2 separate regions of the Homo sapiens genome follow, and region 1 is linked to region 2. Evidence: promoter capture Hi-C in human tissues and cell types (Jung and others, 2019). All regions are on one chromosome and are shown on one strand. Each heading gives the region's core, a stretch centred on a gene start or on the middle of the fragment in contact. The rest is flanking DNA. Distances are from core to core; before and after follow the strand shown. Region 1 holds the start of LOC105369697 (a long non-coding RNA gene). Region 2 holds the start of SOX5 (SRY-box transcription factor 5).

Region 1 (4,471 bases), core at 778-3,277, 320 kb after region 2:
TTTAAAGGCGAGGGGTTCATTTATATAGCTTACTTATCTATGTTCATTTTAATATTAAAAATGAATATCACTATTTACACAAAACGAAGTTACACTTTGAATTTTTGGACATTTGTGACAAGATAAAATCAGCTATGTGAATAATCTGTTTCTAATTAATAAGATCAAATGATGGCAACAATCCATCTAGCATTTATTTCTCATATTCATTTTCGTTATAATTTGCATTTTACTTAATGGGCATCATGAATATTTTTAATAGTAATAATTCTTCTGTAATGTACTGTTTCTGTTTTTTGCTACACTTCTAAGATTTGAAATTGGAAGGAAATATTTATCCACTTACTTCTCACTTTATAAATACTGTATTTGTCTTGGCCAAAAGATGGTTGCCACCTGTTCTACCTATAGGAAGCCAAAAATGTTGACTCCAACCAATGATTGATAGTGATAAGCAGAAGGAAAAAAAGATTGAAATTCTTTTTGGATGATCTTATTTAATTCAAAATAAGCAAGTAGCATCCAATCATCATTTTTATTGACTTAATTAAACTTTTAAAATTATTTTAGTAGGACTATTTTAAAAATTCATAATAATATTTTTGGAATAAAGGCTCAAAATTCCAAGTTGTCATAAATGAAACCTCATGGGCTTACAGCTTCAGTAACTAGTAATATTAGTAGCATGCATTCTCTGGAATAGAGAAAATGATAGATGATGTGTGATCATGTTAGAGAATGAATCATACAAAATATCAACTGAAATCAATCTTTTTTCATAGCAATCATAGGTATACGAAGTAATATTGGAAATGGCTTAAGCTCCTGTCTGATGGAGAGTAACATCAAGGTAGAGGTAGATGAAATACTGAAGCTCATCTTTTTATCAAACTCCTGCCAGTCTCTGAAGAAGGTCAATAATTATGACAGGACACAGATAAAAGAATGCTCCATATTTCCCAGCACTGTGAGTGACTGAGCATGGCTTTATATGCTTGGCCAAGAGAAACTTCCAGAAAATCAATAAGGAAGTAATAACCATATAGAAAAATCTAGATGTGAGGATTTTTATCTTGTTATTGAAGGAATTACTTACAAGGATGTATACTTGTTAAGTGTTCATCTTTACCTACCAAAATACTGTACTACTCAGTTAAACTTTTAGGTCGTATCATTTTCATACAGGGTGAATAATGATCAACTGCTCTTCATTTCAGTCGCAACCCTGGTGTGCTGTTTGCTGTTGGACTTCTGTCTGCATGAGTGAGTTTTCTTGCAGGTTAAAAGACTGAATTCCTTCTTTTCCTCTCCCTTCGACCCTGAGCCTGGAGGGCAGACAGACAGAAGCACACATATGATTAATACAGCACAGCTGCAAGAGTGAGTCATTTGCATATGTATTAATAGAGGCAAAAAAACCCCAACAACAATTAAATTATATACAGAGACATTTTGCATACTAAAGAACATATGCAAATAGGCCTGAAAAAGTGCAGCCAACATTTTCTCTGACTTTTCCAAGCCCATATGGGCTAGAGTCAGAGCCCAGCAGTTTGTCGAGAATCCCCTTTAAGGAAGAACCTATTAGGAACTGCTTCCATAGTTATTACCACCCCTAGAGTTCCTGGGAGGTGTTGACATTTGGACAATGGAGTCAGTACACACAGTGTCTTTTTCATACTATTTCTGTGTTTTCTTGCTTTCAGCAGCTTCATGGTGTCTTATTACATGCTGACAGAAACATCAGTACACGTGTGTTTTTCCAAAGTATTCATTTTTATTGTAATGGTCGATTAAATAAATGGTAAACTTTAAAATTATATTTGAAATTTTGTTATTACCTATACTAAAGCTATATAACTTCAGTCAGTGCCAGGTTTTCTGGTCACAAGTCCATGCCCATTCCTTGATAGTATCCTGTGTTATCTTAATCAAAACATGTTTTAGGTAACTTTAAAATGTTTCTGGGCTAATAAACATACATAAAAGAACTGCTGTCCCAAGACCAGCAGTAGATGTAATTCTATGAGCAATACCAATTTATTGAAATTTTTAAAGTATACTTTTTTAAATTTTATCAAGAAAAACAGAAATATTCAGTTTTCTAGTTTTGGCTGTGGATAAGAAGAGAGGGCAACTAATGTGTTTCAAGTTCACAGATTATGTTTATCTTAGAAATTTGTTCTTCAGCCTAATTGTTGGTTTAGTTTATTTTACTAGTATTCTTTAATTTATTTAAGGAATATTTTATGAAGACAAATTCAATCTTCGGAGTAAAATTTTACCTAAATAAGAGTTATCACCTTAATAGGACCAATGACCCATGTGAAGACAGATGCATCTTAAGAGGAACAAATGCTGGGGTTTTTGTTACTGTTGTTGTTGCTGTTGATACTAGAAAACTATTTAATATTATCCATGGATTTTTATCCATTATTCGTATGGTTTAGTCAAAGCATGCTACTGGGACATACAAATTGCATTACATACAACTTGTAACATAGGGTGGAGTCTTAATTAAATATACACAGAAAAATGTACTTAATTATGTATAGATACACACACACAAATTTAATGTCTTAGGGGATAATTAGAGGAAAGATAAAATGATGAAAGCAATTTTATCTTTTTAAGCTATTGTCTTTAGATTAATCTTTTAAGAAGCACTTTGTTTAGTGAGAGGCAGTATAACATAATGGTTATAAGTGTGGTTCTTGCAGCCATCTCTTCCTTAAATTATCATACTGTTACTTTCAAGCTCTGTGACTCTGGGCAAGTTACCTAACCTCTCCATGCCTCAATTTTCTTGTCTGTAAAGTGGGTATAAATGACCTCTTATTGTTGAGGATTAAATGAAATAATGCATGCAAAGTCTTGGAACAATAAATGTATTATTTCTCAAATACCATGTGCTGGATTTGAGTTAATATTTAATAGTATTAGCTGATTAATAATTGTTATTAGTAGATTTGAGAACTATTTGTTATTGCTTAAAGGAAGTCTTGAAAATTAGGGCATGGCAGACTTTCCTTACGTTTCAGAGCAGCACTAAAGTGTGTTAATAAAACTGAGACAAAATGTCTTATTTTTGAAGAAATAATTTCATTCATCTCTGTGGTATAAAATAAAGGCCCATCGCAAGAATCTATGGGAGGCAATGAGTTTACTTATCCAGAAGACAATCTGGGCAGTTACATGAAGGGTAGTTTTTCATATTTTGCTATGGTTCGTTCCTTGTTACAATATTTATATCTGTAAAATGAGAATAACATCTCCAGTCAATTCCCATTTTTCCATGGAGGTAATGCAAATGAATTGTTTCTATGTGCTGCCTCTAACTATTCTAAATAAATTTCTTACAAAGTCTAAAATAAATTATTTTTACATAGGTGCTTTTAATGTAATATGCAACTTTTTTATAAATCATATAAAAATATTTTCTTGTATAGCCATTCAAAGCTTATTTATTTCCTAGGTAATAGATACATGTCCTTGATACACTAGGATACATGTCCCTTATTCCACCTACATGTTGTCTACAGCAAAATTATTTCTTGAATTGAGAAAATTTTTATTTGACCAAACAGTTTTATTTCAAACTTGAATATGAAAGTGAATTATTTTTATAGACCCATAGTATCCTGGAATCTTTATTTATTCAGCAAATATTTATTCTTTGTAAGCTATTGAGCTAAGCATTATAAGAAATGCAAAGATGAATCAGTCAAGGATCCTTGGTGGATGATAGAGGAGGTTGAAATGAAAGAGAATGAATGAAATATGAAAGTGGAATAGAGTTTGAAGAAAGGCAAACAACCTATCATTCTAACAAGTGTATTTGAAATGAAAAAGACCTCACAGATGGTTGAAAACGTTGTTTCAAACTATTCACCGGACTCCAAGTATGTTCAAGCACCCTCCAGATAGTACCATTGACTTTTATTTGTTTTATATATTAAGTTCCACTGGTTAAAATTGTTTGAGTTAAAGATTTCTGCTGCTAAGCAAAACTTAAAAACCATTCTTCTATTCCAGCTCCTTAATTTTATGGATGAGGCAATTTAGACTCTAAATAGTGACCTGGCTAAAACAGATATTAACAAAAGGGTGCCCGGAATCCTAGCAACTGAAAATTAAATCTACCTTCTTCCCATTTTGCCATGATATTCTTAAAAATAAATGCATATATTTGTATATGTTATTTTTAAGTTGTTTCGTTTAAAAGGATAGGAAGAGAAATTGTTAATTTTGCACTTAGGCCATTAAATTAAGAAAGAATGAATAAAACAATGGTTAGGATTTGCATATTGGTAACAATGGCAACCTTCTGAATTGCTTTCATTTTGCTGAGTTCAGTGATTGTGCTCTGTGAATTAATTCTTTTGTGGAAAGCTATTGAAAGATCAAGGAATTTAGAAAACAAAACAACAGAGAAGCGTGCTGTTTCATATCTATTTGTACATAGAAGGTT
Region 2 (4,218 bases), core at 1,322-3,821:
TGTGCTCTCTCTGCGTCCTCTCCTCCCGCCTCCTCCTCTTCCTGACTCCACTCCCATGGCTCCCTGTAACTCACCCATCCTCCTTCTTCACTTTTTTTCTCTATTGATATAAGATAAGCAAGATTTTTCCTAGTTAGGAAAAAAATTTTAAATATTTTTAAAAGTGTATATAGCTATGCAGCTACTATACCCTAATTCTCATAACAACCATTAACAAATGAAGAAAAATATAATTTTTGTATACATTATCCATTAGAGTATATTAGATTGTAGGTCCCTTAAGGGCTGAAAAAATAGAGATTTAAAATAAATGCAACAATTTTTTCATTTTTCTGTGTGGGAGTAGGTTGTTGCTGTAACAAAAAATAATTTGAGACTAACAACAAGAAAGAATAGTGAGTAATATTCTTCCCCCCTTCCCCAACTGCTGAAAGTGAAAATCATGTCAGCATCAAGTCATTTTTGCCACATCCCTTGTTAACAGCTTTTTCAGGGTGGGTCATAGTTCTATGTTTTGTTAGTGTCTTAACTCCATAGTGACATGCTTAAATCTTATTCCACATTGATTTTGTAGTGTGTGTGTGTGTATATATATATTTTTAGAACATCTCCTGATGATAGAATTAAATATTAAGTTATTATCAACTTGTCTAAAAATTTATAAGCTTTGAATGAAAAATAAATTTACTAATATAAGTTCATAATTGATTTTTTTCTCTTTGGAATATGTGTATGATGTATCACTGTGAATGTCTAAAAAAGTAAACTTACTGTTTGCCTGTCTCCAGAAAAAAAAGTGGGACCTAATCAAACTGCCGTGGGGTCAACCCTTGTGGTTTTAAAGGCCCTTAATGTTGTCCAGCTGCAAAATAAAAGGAATTGGGAGGGGAAGTTGGAAGGAGTGGAGGGGGTTGGGGGGGAGGAATGTGTGGAAAAGAACAGGGAGTCTGGCTTTTATTTTTTTTTTAAGTGAGTTCAGTGCCAGCCTGGACATTGGCTGTACAGACTATTGAGCCATTGTCTGCTCCATTTCCAGAATAGCCCCCAGTTAATCACTTCGGCTTTGAAGGGAATTTCCTCGTGGAATTCTCCACAGAAAATCTAATCAACTGACCTGCCCTCTCAACAATGGAAGGCTTTTTTTTCCTCTCTTTCCCTTATTGGGGCGGGCTCTGTAATGTAGCCTTTTGTGCAGAATGAACCCTCCCAGTAGGAGTGGAGAGCGTGCGTGAGTGAGTGTGTGTGTGTGTGTGTGTGTGTGTGCATGCGTGTGTGAAGAATGCACACTATCTCCTGTTGGTAAGTGTGTGCTTACTCCCTGACCAGATGCTGCGGTGCACGGGGCAGCCACCATCTCTGCATGCATGTCTGTGTAAGTGTCTCTCTCTCTGTGTGTATGTGCCTCTGTCATTTCGTGTCAAAGGTACATTACCTGATTACCTTTCTCGGCTGCCAGATTTTTATCTAGATAATTGGAACTGCTATGGAGGCTGTGCCTTGCCAGCCAGCTTAGAATCTGTAAAGCCATAGTTTGTCCACCTTGTTATCTGTGGCTGCCTGGGCAGAGGAAATTAAAGAGATCCACAGCCAGGGGGGCGCTTCCTACTCCTGACCTCCCCAGCGATCCCAAACAGGACAGTTTGTTAGTACCGTCTTTTTGTTTTTATGTTTTGATTTCGTTTTGGGTTTTTGTTCGCTCGTGTATGTTATTTTGGCATGTGGATACCTATTCCCCTCCACATCGCACATCGTGTTTTATGGAGTTTAGAGCTGAGGAAACTTTGGTCGGGTTGCCAGGACGTTCGCACCACTTTGCGGAAAGCACGAGCTAACAGTGAGACCGACAGAGTGAGTGACAAGTTGTTTACAGGTTTCCTTGAAGGGGCCTCTGCTATATTTCAATCTGTCAAAGTTGCTTTTCTTCCCTCAGAACAATGCCTGATTGTTGTGTGTGTGTGAGTGTGTGTGTGTGTGTGTGCGTGTATTTCCGTGTGTGAACGGAGAGAGCCTAGAAAAGGGTGAGAAGGAATAACAATTCTTTGTGTAAAAATGCTATTACTAACATTAAATTTTTTGCTTAATTAGTTAATAAATGCAGTTTAATCGAGCTTCTGTTATTATATAGACTAGGTTTTTAATCAGCAGCAAATACGTTTTACAAAATCATACTGTTCTGCGTGTGTATGTGTGTGTGTGAGTTTTATGATTTAGAAGACAGAGTATGGGAGACGTGTTAAATGAGTTGACTTCTCACATTCAGTGATGTCTAGAAGAGAGAATTAAAAGGAAAGGACAGGCACCCTGAGGTTGTCTAGAGCCTTGCAGCCGGAGCGTGTGGCTCCGCGGAGGGGGGAGCAGCCAGACTCCGCTGCTGGAAGTGCACTACCCCTTTAAGAGACTGGTCAAGGAGTCCTAGGAGAGAGAGGAGGGGAAGGAGGGGGGGAGAAAGAGAGAGAGAGAGAGAGAGAGAGAGACAGAGAGAGAGAGGGAGAGAGAGAGAGAGAGAGAGGGAGGGAGGGAGGGGGGGAAGAGACAGAGAGAAAATCAATTGGTTTAGAAGGTTTGGACTCACTTGACAGGTTCAGTTGGAGACGATCATAGGTGGCTGCTGTGACAAAGGGAAATTGTGCTTTTCCAGCATGCTTACTGACCCTGATTTACCTCAGGAGTTTGAAAGGTGAGTACAGTTTTTTCCCCCTAATATATTGAAGTACAACTCTCCCATTTTACAGTAGTCTCTGAATCATTGGAAGATGCTCCCCCAAAACGTGTTTGTTAGAGAAGCCTTTAGCTAGGGCTTCTGCAATCTTGTTAGCTGATTTTTTGTTGTGATTGCCCGGACCAAACTGAACTGATTTGCAAAGTCTCCGAGATTTCTGCTAATGTTTTTAGGTTGCGTCCTATAACAGCAAATTAAATGAACCTTAAGCATCTCTCTCTCTCTCCCCAACTCGCTGCTTCTGTCTTTCTCATTCACTCTCTTACTTTCTTCCTTCATTGATTGTTTTCTCCCCACCTTTTAAAAACGCTTTTGTGCAGAATGTTACCATTTTCAGCATCTCTGTCTCATGTAATTTCTAGGGTGACAGAAGGTTTTAGTGGTGCTTTAAACGGAGGCTATAAGTTCCTATTTGATCCTTCCGTAAAACTTTGGAAGCTGCTCAGTAAAGCACATGACCTTTTGTTGATATAAGAGAGCGTTTTTTCCCCCCAAAGAAAATTTAACATCATCGCTATATTAGATTACTCCCTAAGTGTCAAAAATAGGGGCGAAAAGGGGATAAATGGAGCTGTTCCCTTTCTAAGTTTTAGTGGCCACTTTTTGTGTTAGCTGTCTTGACTGAATTTTAATTTACTGTATTTTCCCCTTTTGCTATGATGGGAATAGTGTATTTGTAATTAAGTTGTTCCTATTTAGAGAAATATCTGCAGCATCCTTTTATTTGATGTTGTTGCAAGTAAAGCAGGGCTTTGAAAGAATTTTAGCCCTCTTAATGTTCCTATAAGTACACATTGCAATTTTTAAATTTGAGTTCTTATCCCAGCATAAGTTCATTTTTTTGAACTATAAATAGAATTTTGTTTGCCATTAAAAAGAATTCAAACTTTGTATTCTGTATGGTGAATTAAAAAAAAAAAAGCTAAAAAAAGCCAGGATGCATGATACCCAGGCTTTTTTTCATTTTCATGAAAGCTACCTTCTGTATAAACATTTGTTGTATCTGACTATGCAATGCAAGCTAGGTGCTAGACCAGCTGGTTAAAAATATGCTAAGTCAAGCTGTTCATCGCTCAAACGACTGAATTTGATATGAAAAGACGAAAAAAGAAAGGACAAAGATTAAAACATTCTAGAAGTGAAGCAATGGAAGAGAAAAAGAGTATTGAGGATAAAGTAACGCTTGAATGTGGTCACATATTAGAAAAGCCAGTATCAAATCAGGGAAGAAAGTAAAATAGCCAACACATATACTTCGGTGCTGTCATCTTTCTTTGATTTCTTCTGTGTTTTTTTTTTTAATAATTAAATTGCATCTTTACTAGATAATTCCAGCGAATGTTTGAGCTTTCTTAACAGTTTTGAATTAAAATTTTCACTTCTATATATTAACTCTTTAATTAGTGAGCTTTTATTTGCAAATATAGCCTTATATCATAGGTAGATGTTGAAGTTATTCATAGTGGAACATACTGTACATTACCTAATGTAGCGATTTG

What was found. The method cuts DNA at HindIII sites, captures the fragments that hold promoters and counts their contacts. A contact is called where the count stands out against the background at its distance.
Region 1: a contact is called between a fragment that was not itself captured here and the fragment with the promoter of SOX5 in region 2, in 2 of the 25 tissues and cell types used here (dorsolateral prefrontal cortex and mesenchymal stem cells).

The regions. Positions count from the first base shown.
Region 1 is chr12:23,629,055-23,633,525 of GRCh38, reverse strand. The region is part of intron 8 of SOX5 (SRY-box transcription factor 5); the gene reads left to right. It overlaps LOC105369697 (a long non-coding RNA gene), which reads right to left and starts at 1,204. Exons shown (of 3, transcript XR_001749445.3): 1 at 1,134-1,204. The HindIII fragment of the contact is 7,266 bases long and covers 1-4,471 here.
Region 2 is chr12:23,948,023-23,952,240 of GRCh38, reverse strand. SOX5 (SRY-box transcription factor 5) reads left to right here and starts at 2,571. Exons shown (of 15, transcript NM_006940.6): 1 at 2,571-2,677. The coding sequence starts at 2,640. The HindIII fragment of the contact is 5,378 bases long and covers 1-4,218 here.